Linked DNA regions of Homo sapiens: all the other regions are linked to region 1. Evidence: promoter capture Hi-C in 16 types of primary human blood cells and fetal thymus (Javierre and others, 2016). All regions are on one chromosome and are shown on one strand. Each heading gives the region's core, a stretch centred on a gene start or on the middle of the fragment in contact. The rest is flanking DNA. Distances are from core to core; before and after follow the strand shown. Region 1 holds the start of IDE (insulin degrading enzyme). Region 2 overlaps EXOC6 (exocyst complex component 6). Region 3 overlaps EXOC6 (exocyst complex component 6). Region 4 has its middle 13 kb from the start of EXOC6. Region 5 overlaps CPEB3 (cytoplasmic polyadenylation element binding protein 3).

What was found. Contacts are between HindIII fragments. The CHiCAGO score rates a contact against its expected background, and 5 or more counts as called.
Region 2: a contact is called between a fragment that was not itself captured here and the fragment with the promoter of IDE in region 1, in 1 of 17 cell types (naive B cells). The highest score is 7.3, in naive B cells.
Region 3: a fragment that was not itself captured here is called in contact with the fragment with the promoter of IDE in region 1 in 2 of 17 cell types (naive B cells and total B cells); the score reaches 6.0 in naive B cells.
Region 4: a contact is called between a fragment that was not itself captured here and the fragment with the promoter of IDE in region 1, in 1 of 17 cell types (neutrophils). The highest score is 5.0, in neutrophils.
Region 5: a fragment that was not itself captured here is called in contact with the fragment with the promoter of IDE in region 1 in 1 of 17 cell types (megakaryocytes); the score reaches 5.1 in megakaryocytes.

The regions. Positions count from the first base shown.
Region 1 is chr10:92,572,777-92,575,476 of GRCh38, forward strand. IDE (insulin degrading enzyme) reads right to left here and starts at 1,317. Exons shown (of 25, transcript NM_004969.4): 1 at 1,146-1,317. The coding sequence starts at 1,243. RefSeq lists a silencer at 717-1,166 and enhancers at 1,667-1,726, 1,737-1,976. The HindIII fragment of the contact is 22,211 bases long and covers 1-2,700 here.
Region 2 is chr10:92,866,652-92,869,351 of GRCh38, forward strand. The region is part of intron 1 of EXOC6 (exocyst complex component 6); the gene reads left to right. Among named protein-coding and RNA genes, the nearest start is that of EXOC6, 19 kb to the left of the region's middle. The HindIII fragment of the contact is 957 bases long and covers 852-1,808 here.
Region 3 is chr10:92,883,640-92,886,339 of GRCh38, forward strand. All of the region lies in intron 1 of EXOC6 (exocyst complex component 6), which reads left to right. Among named protein-coding and RNA genes, the nearest start is that of EXOC6, 36 kb to the left of the region's middle. The HindIII fragment of the contact is 1,531 bases long and covers 593-2,123 here.
Region 4 is chr10:92,833,748-92,836,447 of GRCh38, forward strand. It overlaps a transcript of EXOC6 not described here. Among named protein-coding and RNA genes, the nearest start is that of EXOC6, 13 kb to the right of the region's middle. The HindIII fragment of the contact is 2,950 bases long and covers 1-2,700 here.
Region 5 is chr10:92,085,359-92,088,058 of GRCh38, forward strand. The region is part of intron 8 of CPEB3 (cytoplasmic polyadenylation element binding protein 3); the gene reads right to left. Among named protein-coding and RNA genes, the nearest start is that of BTAF1, 160 kb to the left of the region's middle. The HindIII fragment of the contact is 641 bases long and covers 995-1,635 here.

The DNA of each region.
Region 1 (2,700 bases), core at 67-2,566:
CATATCTAGGCTGGATTACGCCCACGCCAGCCCTCACTCCAACCTTTCTGCCATTCCTTCCAAAGCCAGCCTACCCCCCCATCTCTGGCCCCACACACTACCCATACTACCCATCTTCTGACCCTCATCAACACACCCTTGTAGCTATCTCAATTCCCGTGGCATCCCAATCCGCTCCAATCAAGTCAAAGTTCCTTGGAAGGCAGACACATACTTTACATAGAGGGTCCAGCACAGTGCCCTGCACTTAGTAGGTGCTGGCTATTACTGATTAAAACCAGCAGGGGTTCAAATAACGTTTCTAGGGAGGGCAAGATAATACTGCCTATCTTCTTCCATTCGTAGTAAAAAGTATTCAGCGTTCACTACAAGCCTGAAAACGCCTAGCGTACGCAGATCAACGGTGCAGTGGAGAGGGCACGCCGCCGGATGGCAAAAAACCTGTGTCCTAATCCTGGTTTTGCCACAATCTCGGCAGTTGCTGGGAAATCAAGCCATCTCTCGGAGCTCCGGTTGTCTCCGACGTAAAACAAGGGAGCTGCTGTAGAGGATCCCGAGGTATCTTTTGGCTCCTAAATGTCCCCCGATAGGAAACCCCACACTCGTCTTCCAAGGCGGGAGGCAGGCAAACTTTTTTCCCAGCGCGGGCATTCCACACGGTCCTGGAAACTCAGTGCCCGGAGAAAAGGGCAGGGCTGAGGGCAAGGTGAGAAGCGGTCCCCCCGAAGTCGCCGGATTCCTTTACCCCACGGCTCGAGTCCGCCTCAGGTTCCCGGCCCCCTCACAGGCGGACTCCGGGAGAGTGACGCGGCGCGGCTCCCAGGTGCAGGCCGGGTGACTCTGTCCGCCCCTGCGCCCCCCGCACTAGTGGCACACGCCCCGTGGCCCCGGGTAGCGGCCCCGGCCCCTCACCAGCCCAAGGGACGTCCCCGACTCTGGACCAGGCCTCTGGCTCCCGCCTGGCGAGCCGCTCTTCCGGGCCCTGGGGCGGCCTCAGCGCGGCAGTACGGGCCCCAGGCCGGCGGGACGGGCGGCGTGAGGGGCAGCGGTGGCGGCTTTAAGTGCTGAATCACCACTTTGCAACCCGAGCGCCAAACCGCTGTGACCCACGGGGCCCGAGGGCCCGGGCGCTCCATTCCGCTTACCCACACAGGCGCTCCGGAGGCGGCAGGCGGGCGCCGAGGACTGAGCGGAAGGTGCTGGGCAGTGCGGGGTGCAGAAGCCACGCTAGCCGGTACCGCATTAGCCAGCGCAGTCGCCGGGATCACCGCAAACGCTTCCTGCTTGCGCTTCGAGCCGGCCCTGCGCACTGCGCATGCTCTAGCCGCGGCGCCGCGCGGTCTCCCGGGAGCTGCGGAGAGGTAGCTGCTCCGGGTTTTGCCTGGAGCCGGATGGGGCCAGGACGCAGGCGAGGACGGTGAAGACCGCGGACAGCCGAGGCCTGAGCAGGCGGACTGGAGGGACAGGGGTTTGGCCGGGGCGCTTTAGGAGCCAGCACCCAGACTTTCCCAGGCGGGGAGGGTCCCAGCTAGATCCCACCGGCCGCACTTGTGAGGGTGGCGACGTGTGTCTGACTGTGAGGGGGCGAGGGGCCGCTCATAAATCCAGTGAGGGCACACGGGGCTATGTTTTCTGAGGCACCCCCACTGACTAGCGTGCCGGACCCTGCAGGTGTTGGAACAAGGTTCGTGGTCGCGGCGGCCTCACGTAAAATGAATCCGCGGCCGGCGCGCGGCCCGCGGGCTCCCTCTAGAGCGCGGTGGGGACGTGGACCGCGAAGGCACAGATGCGCTGGAGACAAGGCTCGAGTGCGGCGTGGGGGAAATTCAGACGCAGGGGTCAGCGATAGAGAGGCCAGGACCCAGGGGGACGTTTCCATCCTTGGGGAAGTTAGCAGCTCTCTTAAGAGGAAGGTGCGGATGGGACGGGCGCCGCAGCAAAACAAGGCTTCAAATCCAGAGTAGAAACTACTACTCTTGTTAGTACTCCGTACTAGGAATACTACTAATGTCAGTCGGCTTCAGTGGTTACTTTTTAAACAAAGAATTTTCTCCCCAGTGGCTTTATGGGGCTTTGCACCCACGAACAACTTAATAGTTGTTATGAATCTAACTTTCCATAATACCTTATGGGAGTCTTTAAGGAAGAATGCTATTAGGGATGGTGACTTGCCAGCTTAAGTACTTTTAGGTTTCTGATTGACAGACGATCAAGACTGCAGCCAAAAACGGTGTCCTTAGTCCAAGTATTGCTTTAAATGGGAATTCAGTAGGAGGGTTCCTTAATCAAGTTGATGCTTTATCGAAGACGTACCCACGATCTTTTTAACAGTGCGGTTTCACCTAAAGGCAAACCTTTGGATGAAAACAGGTAAAAATTATGGCAAGCCTCCTAGTGGTGTTTGCAAGTGCATGGTTTTAAGAACCTTTAAATTACCAGTCCCAATGCAGAGTAGTCAATCACCTTGAAGCAGCTCCTCTGAGAGTGTTAATGCAGCCTTTCTGAATACATTTATGCTCCATTAATGGAATCTATAAATGGGCTGGGGTAGATTCAGACTTGGAGGGCTTGAAACATATACAATTTGGGGGACCTCTTTGAGACATAAAATACAAATTATAAATACAAAATTAGCAATCAGAAGATTACTATAGAGAGAAAATACATCACAACAAATACTCGAGACTTGGAGATTAGTAC
Region 2 (2,700 bases), core at 80-2,579, 290 kb after region 1:
TAATGTTAGCTTATGTGATCAGTAAACCTGTATGTGTTTAGGAAAAAAAATCTTAGCAGAATAAAATGATTAATCAGAGACAAGAAATAGCTATTTTTAAAAACTGAAATTATCAAGGTTTGCCAAAATTGTATCTTATTTAGGTGACCTTGGGTTTTAAAAATGTTTTTGAGTTAGTTTCCATAAGAATTTTTCTTAAGTCTAACACATTTAACATATTAGAAGTTCAATTTCCTTGTTTTGGGGGAATTTTACAAATATTCTATTTATATAAGTACTTATTTGTATCAATAAGCCAGTCAGAACAGAGTTTCTTTCATTCAAGAGACTTTATAGTTTAAACTATTAATAGAGATAACTTGTTTTACATACTTAATGAAGAGGTAAAAGTCTTTCTGAATTACAGATGCAGAGCTTTGTAACTTTGTTTCTGTAACTTCACTCACAGGTCAAGAGATGTAAGAGTCACAGAGATAGAAAAACTCATTGGTCCAGATGTCAAAGACCTGTTCTTGGTGGACATGAAATTCTTAACTGGATTTGAGCTCAGAATAAACAGATATGTTAAAAAGACTAACAAACCAAAGTCTCTTTTATCTTTTACCCAAGTGATCTCTATCATCCGTCTATAAGGATCACCAAGTAAATGATCATAAAATCGAATTCTCAATCATTGCTGCCATTTAGGGGTGATAACTTACTGGCCATGCAGTAACTAGAAACCACACCAGAACATATAATTTGTAGAGAGGATGGGGGAAGCGGGGATGACCCAGAGAAACAGGCAGCAAAGTTAAGTATATATTGCTGCTTGGGTTTTACTTCTGGGAGCCAAGAAAAGATAATACCCAAGCTTGAGTAGCCCATGAGGTGCAATTATCTGATAAAGCAGTTTTCTTGGCTCTGTCAGGTGAATGCACTGGGCATTTTGGTAAAACTTCCAAAACTATTAAAAGATAATTTTCAAAAAGGTAAAATCATGACCCTCACACAAATGTAAAATGAATATGTGCCAAAGATTGTATTTAACTTATTAAGAGGGAATCAGTATGATGTTACAACTGTTTCAAAGGCAATGGCAAAAAACAATATAGGATTTGGGAATGCTGAGATGGATATATAAATGGATACACAACTGGTCAGTATCCACAGGGCAGTAATCAATTGTATTCCACTGACAAAAATATATCTGCATTTTTTTGGACAAGAGTCATTTGCATTAGTATCAGCTTTCTACAATTTATAAAGTTGTAAAATAGCCAAAAGACAGTGAAAGGCACAGATAACCCCAAAATATGCTAGATAGGACATTCAGTAATCTTTTTTGTCCATTTCAGTTTTTTAAAATTGCCATTAGAAACATTTTTTTCATTTGTCTTTTTACTGTAGTTATACTTTTATTTTTTGCTGTGCAAAAGTTTTTTATTTTATGAAATAAAATTTATCAGTCTTTCCCTTTTTAGCTTGTGAATTTTGAGTCATAGGAAAGTTTTCCAGATTCCGGAGTTATAGGGGAGTCCACCCATGTTTTCTTTTGGTACTTGTATGGTGTTTTTTAATGTTGCATCTGATTCTGTTTGCATTTTCCTGGGGTGTGGCATGAGGAGTGGCTCTTTATCTTTTTTCACGTGGCAACCCAGCTATCCTAGTACCTCTTATTAAAATGTAGGTCTTTTTCATGTTGATTTGAGATGGTGCCATTATCATGTACTGAATTTTTATACGCAGTGATACTGTATGTGGGTTTCTTGGTTCTGTTCATTGTCTATATGTCTATTCATGTGCTATGCAGCACTTTTAATTTTGGAAGCTTCGTTGTTTTAATATCTGGTAGGGCTACCTGCATCTCATCGCTTATCTTTTTCAGGGATTTCCTGGTGACTCTTCCTTATTTCTCTAAACAAACAATAAATTTCTCTAGTTCTAGAACACTCAAAGTATTTGATTGGGATTGAGCTATAATTATAAATTAATTAGGGAGAACAGGCATGTTGATGATATTGAGTCTTCCTATCCAAGAACATGTTATGTCTTTCAAGAGAGTTAAACTTTTCCATAAATAAATTTTAGAATTCCTTAAGATTATGTGTAGGTGTTTTTTCTCACTATTTTAATTGGGCCCTCCCTTCCTTCCTCCCTCCCTTCTTTCCTCCCTCCCTCCCTCTTTTTTTTTTTTTTTTTGAGACAGGTTCTTGCTAGAGACCAGGCTGGAGGGCAGTGGCATGATCATGACTCACCTTGTAGCCTCAACCTCCTGGGTTCAAGTGATTCTCCCACCTCAGCCTTCCGAGTACCTGGGACTAAAACCTTTAGTATTTTCTCATTAGGAGAGCTCTGGCTTTTGTGCTGAGGGATTTATATTTTATCATGTTAAGGAAACATTCATCAATACCCACTTTATTTAGTGTTTTTAACAAGAAAGTTTGTTGAATTTTGTCAGATGTTTTTCAGCATCTATGAAGATGGTCATACGATTGTTTTGCTCCATCAGTGTGATTGAAATTAGTGCTTGGCTAATTTTTAAAATTTTTTGTAGAGATGAGGTCTTACCCTGTTGCCTAGGCTGGTGTCAAACTCCTGGGCTTAAGTAATCCTCCCTCCTTGGCCTTCCAGAGTGCTGGATTACAGGCATGAGCCACCATGGCAGGCCCTTTCTTTTAAAAAAAAAAAAAAATGAGACAGGGTCGCACTCTGTTGTCC
Region 3 (2,700 bases), core at 108-2,607, 310 kb after region 1:
GAAGAACTGGTGAAATAATAGTAAAAATGCCTATACTGGAAGAATAAAGAATGCGCAGAAGAGTGTGAAAGCAATTTTTTATTGATAGAAATGCAAACTTAAGGCTAATGTATCATTTGAAAAACTGGCAGAAAATAGGTTAGTGTTTGAAAAGGTATAAAATGACATTAAAAAGCATTAAAGGAAGTCAGAAGTAACTGATAGTATTTTGTCAGGGGTAAAAGAGTTAAGTTTTGTTTTCTTTTTGTTCTTTTCTTTTCTTTTCTTTTCTTTTTGAGATGGAGTCTTGCTCTGTTGCCCAGGCTGGAGTGCAGTGGTGCGATCTTGGCTCACTGCAGCCTCTGCCTCCTGGGTTTAAGTGATTCTCTTGCCTCAGCCTCCCGAATAGCTGGGACTACAGGTGTGTGCTACCACAACTGGCTAATTTTTTTGTATTTTTGGTAGAAACAGAGTTTCACCATGTTGGCCAGGCTGGTCTCAAACTCCTGGCCTCAAGTGATTCACCTGCCTTGGCCTCCCAAAGTGCTGGGATTACAGGCTTGAGCCACTGTGCCTGGCCTAAAGTTTTGTTTTCTGATAAAGGTTTGTAGAAAGCTTTGACACCAAAAGGTGTCAGTTGACACAAGCAGTGTCAATGCCCAGGGATTCCTGAACAATATTTCTGCTTCTAGTTTTCCAGTATTTGGAAGTCCATTTTCTTGCTAGTTTTTGTTTTTTCTTAAAAGCAGTTGATTGACATTTAGTAAAATACATGGGAAAGTCAGCCAGTGACTAGCATTTTAATGGCAATTGCTCTAGGTACTTTCTCAAATTATACACTATGCAGATGTAGCCCCTGACCATGCTCTTTTATGGTTATGCAACCAGTATATGTATTCTGTTAGTGAACAAAGCATTCTGGGACAGAGAAAAGCCATTTTTATTTTGTCTAGAAAAGAAACAATACTATTCTAGCAAATATAAGTAATTTCGGGACATTAGAATTAGATACTTTGAGATTATATCAGATTTTCCTCAAAGTGTAGACATTATTTTAGTAAAAAAGAGTAAATACATTTTATTTTCTTCACAGTTGTAATGGATTTATTCTTTACAATGAAGACTGCAGTGAATTAAAAAGATACCCAAAATAGTGTAAGGATATTACATGCTTTTTAACAAAAAATATATAAAAAGTGATGAGTTTTTTTCACAATAATACATCGTGAATGTTGGTTTTTCATCAGAAAGGGAACTTTTCCTTAAAAAAAATACTGTGGAATTTGATTACTAAGTCATTTATTTACAGAATATAGCATCTTTCCAAAAAATTCAAGTGGCCGTAGTTTCTCAGTTAAGACATTTGATTTGATGATAAAAGCATTAATTTCTAGTGAACCAATTTTAACATTTTAATGTCTTATCTTTCTTTTTGTATTTATTTTACTACCACTAGGTGGAGCCCTAAACACACAATTCAAGAAAGTATCTCTGCAAGATACTTTGTTTAAATTCCCTAAAGCCAATTTATAATCAGTTACAGCGAGTTAACTCATATTTAAACTTTGAAAACTTTGGTTTTCAAGGGTTGATATAATGAAGATAGAAAATGTGTTTGATACTTAAAATTTTTTTAGCTATATTTTTGAGACACAAAGTATTTTTATACATTCCGAGTTGCTAAAATTAAAATATGTAAGTAAAATCTTTAGTGTGGCATAAGCCATATTTGTTCTCTGTTCACATGAAGGTTAAAGTCAGCTCTTTTTTTTTTTTTTGAGATGGGAGTCTTTCCCTGTTGCCCAGGCTGGAGTGCAGTGGCGCAATCTTGGCTCACTGCAACCTCTGCTTTCCGGGTTCAAGTGATTCTCCTGCCTCAGCCTCCCAAGTAGCTGGGATACAGGTGTGCATCACCACGCCTGGCTAATTTTTGTATTTTTAGTAGAGACAGCGTTTCACCATATTGGCCAGGCTGGTCTGGAACTCCTGACCTTGTGATCCACCCACCTAAGCCTCCCAAAGTGCTGGGATTACAGGCGTGAGCCACTGTGCCCAGCCATCTCTTCTTTTAAAAATGATTTTGCATCTGTACTTCTGTCTGAGTTGCATTAAATTTTGCCAGAATTAGACATTTTATTGTGTTAAGCTTTTGGAAGGGATGACTGAGCTAACCCCCCCCTCTTTTTTACTTTTAAACAAATTTTATTTTATTTATTTATTTATTTTACCTTTGTCCTGAACTCTCTTACATTGATGTGTCATTATCTATATATAGAGCACTAAGGTATACTCTTATTGGATGTGGGAGAATGGAAAGTTTACTAATTTTCTAATGTTCGCTCTTGCTGGTTCTAGCATATAAATATGTGTGTGTTTGTTTACAGGAACTTGATTAGACTTAACAATAGAAATTATAAAATTTTGGGAGACTGAAAGAACGAAAAATTATTTTTGTTAAAATTGTTTATTGATTCAAAATTTAGAATGGCAATAAATCTAGCACATTCATATATGAATTAGGTAGATATAACTATAAACCAACTAGGCTCAAAGAGTGAGTACTGCTTAACAGCATTTCCTTTCTGTTCCTACAAATCAGAATTTCAAAGAATAATGATTATCATTTAAAGAAAAAAAGAAAAATAGCTTTTTCAGAGTCTCTTCAACTGAGGTCAAGTACAGGGCCCTCGATTTTCTCTACTTCTTTTTGCTCCTCCTTAT
Region 4 (2,700 bases), core at 184-2,683, 260 kb after region 1:
TGTATTTCTTGTATTAAGCAAGAAAGCTGAGGCTAAACTGAATTGAAGAAGATCGAATGCAAGTGGTAATGGGAAATACATGCCCGTTAGTTCTTTAGGCCTACTTGGGGCTGGTTGTAGGGCACATTTTCCTTTGCTGTTTTGGGCCTCTAGTTCATGCACTCTTTCTTCCTCTCGGTGGCAGCTAGCCTTCTTAAAACCCTGACATCTTCATTCTCTTTCTTCCTCTCCATCAAAACCTATTCTGCAGAAGGGATCTAGCAAACTCATTCACAGTGAGGCATAAGGAACTGAAAAGGAGTAAGATCTAAATGCCTCCAGAAGCATTTGTATTTGAACAAGAGATAAAAGAACTAATGGCTCTATCTCTAATGGAGGAAATTGACACAGCAAAGTAGAGAAGCAAAGGAGATAGACAGGGCACCAAGGAATTAGCCTAGTGACCTCAAAATCACATCCCATAGCACATTTCATTTTTCCTGGGCAAATTACCTCCTTGGGTTTGTGGGCAAGCCCTTGCCCACAAATACAAATGCTTCTGGAAGCATAGTTGCGGTAATAACTAGGAATGTAGCTTTAGTTATGTATTTAGCATAAATAATATTAATATATATGCCTTGTCAAATCAAATGCATTTAATAAATTTGTATAGTGTAATGACTGTAATTCCTACATATAGTTATTGTCTTTGAGAAACGAGTGAATAAATATAGCTGGCACTAGGCAGGAACTTTCCGAACTGTGTCAAGGTTAATAGTAAGTAAAATGTTATAAGTGGAAACAGGACAGCAACAGCTGTGCAACATTCTTGGAAGCAAAGACTTTTATAGCATGAAGTCAGACAGTGAGCTTGTTTTTGTTGCTCCTTTGGGTGAACAGAGAATCCTTCTAATAATTATAAGGAAAACGGTATTTTTTTTTTTATAAATTACAACAGTTTTTCACTCAATATCTGACATCTGCAGCTGGAAAATTAGGGGCCTGTCGAGCGATGTTGGAAGAAGAAACAGATCAAACCTATGAGAATGTCCTGGCTGAGATTCAGTCTTTCGAACTGCCTGTTGAAGCTACTTTAAGGTAGGGCACCGTTGCATTTTATTGTGTCTTCTTTAGCGGTGATAAGGTGGTCCTTTACCCTGCTTTTTATAATTCTTTATAAGAGTAAAAAATATTCTTGCAAAACAGTTACAGTTCTGTATATACTTAATCTCAAAGTTTTCTTATCCTTAGAGAGATTACAGGACATAATTAATCCATTTTATTTTGCATGTTTCCTAACTCATCACCATAAGATTAAAAACTATGACTTTCAAATGATCAAAAAGGACCTCAATCACCTCCAAATAAATTTATATGAGGTTTCAATTGTTTTCTTTAACATATCACTTAGTGAAAAACATTCAGAACAATTAGACATATCAATGAAGCCAATTTACATTTGGGTGGATATGAGTCATAGGAAAAAATGTAGACCATTTATTTGTATTGTAGCTGCTTTCTTGAGTGTATGGTGACCATTCAGATATGTATTATTTTGTTTCCATATAAGGTTTATTTATTTTTTCTTTTTTAACATTTTCTTGAATACCAATATATAAGGTTTAAAAATAGCTTCTTTGGTAATGTGGGTATTAATTTTCACAGTTCAAGAACAGGATTAAAATGAAAAACTATGTGTCATTGTGTTCAAAGGGCAGCTTTTAAAATTTAATTCTCTATGTCTGCCTGTCTCTGACACCTATCAGTGTGGGAACAAGATATTCATCACTGAATTTGATAGTGACAGTCAATAAATATTTGTTGACTAATATTTGTAGATTAAGTGGAAGGATATGTGTGTGTGTGTATCTGTGTGTGTGTGTGTGTGACCTCTTCATTCTCAGAAAGACCCCAGGGCCAAGAGCTTCTAAATCCACTAAAGTTTAAACCTGAATAAATTTCTCCCAGCTATTTAAATCTTATTTTGCATTAAACATAGTTTGAATATCTTCAAAGGTCTTAGGGTAGTGTTAGGGACATGGTAAACAATTGAGATTTGTTGGTTGATTCTTGGATTATCAATATGTAGGTATAGTTGCAAAATAATTACAACTCCATTATAACTATTACATATACCTTTGTCTTATCTGAGCATCATAAATATTCTGCGAAAAAGAGCTGGTAATTTTCAATAGCAGAAATCAGAGCTTTGTAGCAATGGAAAACTCAACAATTTTTTTCCATATGGGGCATACTTTAAATTGTACCATTGCCTTCTAAAACTTGTGCATCCACCTAGTGGCTAGGTAGGTGGTCAAGTGCCAGGTGCTAGGTAGTTAAGTGCTAGATGCTAGGTGGCTAAGTCTAAGTGGAAACAAGAGAAAGGGTGAAGGGAGCCTAGATGTGTTTTAGGCCATGGCCTCTGCTCCCATTGCTGCTTCAGAGCCCTTGGCCTTCAACTTGTAACCCTTTCTACCTCTCCCCGGTCTCACAACACTGGCCAACATCTACAGACTTTGTCTGTCCTTAGAACTAACCTGTCGGCTAGTCTGTCTCTGGTGTTGGACTTGACTTCCTTTCTTGGTGCTTGGATCTTTTTTACCTTCTCTTCTTAGGAAAAATATCCCTGGTACCAATCTTGTACCTTGTCTTTCTACAGCAAAAAATCATTTAGATTTGGCAGCCACAGCACTCTCTCAGCATCACCCTCAAGGGCAGAGC
Region 5 (2,700 bases), core at 65-2,564, 490 kb before region 1:
GATCCTAAGACAACTTAAGTTGTCTCATGAACAACTTCCATGGTAGCAGCAACACAATGAGTCTAATCCACATGCTGGCTCTTGTGATGAGCGTCACTGTGCCACAGACTGGAGGGGCAAACTAGAATACTGCAGCAATATGGAGCATAGCATCCCCATGGATTCCTTTGGATTGTGATGACTACATCTCTGAATCTGAATATAAGCTTCAATTATGGTTCCTTGGATTTGCTCCTGATTCTTTTTTCTTTTTTCTTTTTCTTTTTTTGAGATGGAATCTCGCTCTATCGCTCAGGCTGGAGTGCAGTGACACGATCTCGGCTCACTGCAACCTCCGCCTCCAGGGTTCAAGCGATTCTCCTGCCTCCGCCTCCCAAGTAGCTGGGATTATAGGAGTGCAGTCACCACGCCCAACTCATTTTTATATTTTTAGTAGAGATGGGGTTTTGCCATATTGGCCAGGCTGGTCTTGAACTCCTGACATCAGGTAATCCACCTGCCTTGGCCTCCCAAAGTGCTGGGATTACAGGCGTGAGCCACCGTGCTTGGCCTGCTCCCAATTCTTTACAAAGATGTGAAAGGGTCTTTAGTTCACCAGAGAGGAAACCCATGATGACTCCTTCTTCATGGGTTCACCTTAGGGCCCTATTTATATCATTTAATTATAATACATTTCAAAGCCAGCTAAGGCAACATGTGAGTCTGAGATACTGGAGAGCCAAACGAGATAGAGTAGAAATGAGGATTCCAGAGGAAAATAACACATTCGTCTCTACAGATTCTAAACTGCGAATCTATAATCCATATTTCTTCTCTTTGGAAATAAGGACAAAACAGATAGGCAAGAGGCATAGGGCACCTTAAGATATCAAAGAGGTCTTGACTTCTGAAAGAAAGGAAGATTAAACTTGAGGAGGACTTTCTAGGTTTACCACAATTGTCAAGTTGGTTCAAGGGCAATTCACACACTTCAAGTGGAAGAAATGTGCTCATAAGCTTCTGCTCTGCATCAGATATGTTGGGAAGTTAAGAATATTTTCAAATAGATGGTATGAACAATGAATTAAATCAGACAGAGTACACTGGTACCAAGTAGACTGTTACTACTGTTACTGAGACAACATCTCAGATCTCAGCTTAATAAAGTATCTTTCTTTCGACCTGAGAAAGACCAGTTACTCTATCTGAACTCTGCTTCATCATCTCGAAAGCGCAGTCTACCACTTACAATCTCACAGGGTCATTGTGAGAATTAAACATCCATGAGAGCTCTGGGCACACTGCTGAGGACAGAGTGGTATTCAAATGTTTAGTTTTGTCCAGGGTTCTTGCCCCTCTCCCACCCTGTGAATCTCTGCTTAACATTTAAGTTGGCCTGGTTTTATGCTCTATAAGTATCAATTCATTGCAGTGTTATTTTGGTTTTATGCTAATATCACACAGCCTGCCACTGATATGGCAAAGTTTGACATCAGCTTTGGATGAGGGTTTGCTTTTGGTGCAGAGGGAGGACACAAACACATACTAACATTAGGAAAACCCTTATCCCTAAAGGTAATACAGTTAATCAAGTCAGTATGCCAAATCTGGAGTTTATCCGGGACAACCCATACTGAACTTAGGACATGGTGAAAAAGCTTCTACTGTTGAAAAACTTGATACAGGATGGTTTCTGCCTGCAACCATATCATAAAACAACAATAAAGGATAGGGTTATAATATACTCCTGTTTCCTAAGTCACAAATCAGGACATGGTTTCTAATACATGTGAACTATCAAATGTTTATATAAAATGTCTGAAATAAATGATCTTAGAAAAATTCAGGATATATGTTCTCTAGATATATGCCACATATCTCTGAATATTTACTTCACAAATTTTTACCTCCCACAGAAAAACCATCCTCACAACAGTCAGGGCAGGTGGGGAAGGCAGAGAAAGAAATTTCAGGATTCACCACAGAATATTGGTAGGGGAAAAAAAGAAAGGAAGGAATTATCACAGCAATTGTTAGGAAAGATAGAACCAAAAGATGAACGAGAAAACAGTAGGTTGTGGGGATTCAGATGAGCACTCTCTCAAGATTGATCTGTTTGCAGGGCCTAAGGAAGTCATGAAGTCAAGAACAGTTTATATGCTTCTAATGAGAAAGACTGAAAGTTTTTCCAGCCTGATCAAGGTTGGGAATGAATGGATCCAAAAGCTTGGTCACTGGGGCAGTCCTCCCATCAGATGCCAAAACCAAGAAATTTGGGATCAGAGGAATACTCATGTTAATCAACTGGGGAAGAGTACAGAGACCACATACCTCACTCTCTACTTTTTCCTGGTGATATCATAACCCCCAAGTCTGGCACTTATTTTCTGTCAGAGTGAAGAGATATGCATTCTGGAGAGGTCCTAATGCCACAGAGATATGCAACAGGGCTATTTCTGTATGGAGATTCACATTACGTGAATGAAGCAGAGTGGCAACGTGTTGTACTTCCAGGTGGCAGCAGGAGGAGAATCAAACTGCCCATTATTACCCTGTACTGACTCTAAAGAATATGCGAGCTTTAGCCACATGGTGGCACGGTGAGTCTACTTACAGGCTTTCCTAATGTGAGGGCAGGGTGAGGTGGGGAGTAGAAAGAAAACAAGATCTGATAAACACCAGGAGACTTCAGGCAAACCATCGTTGGCTTGCTATTGTCAC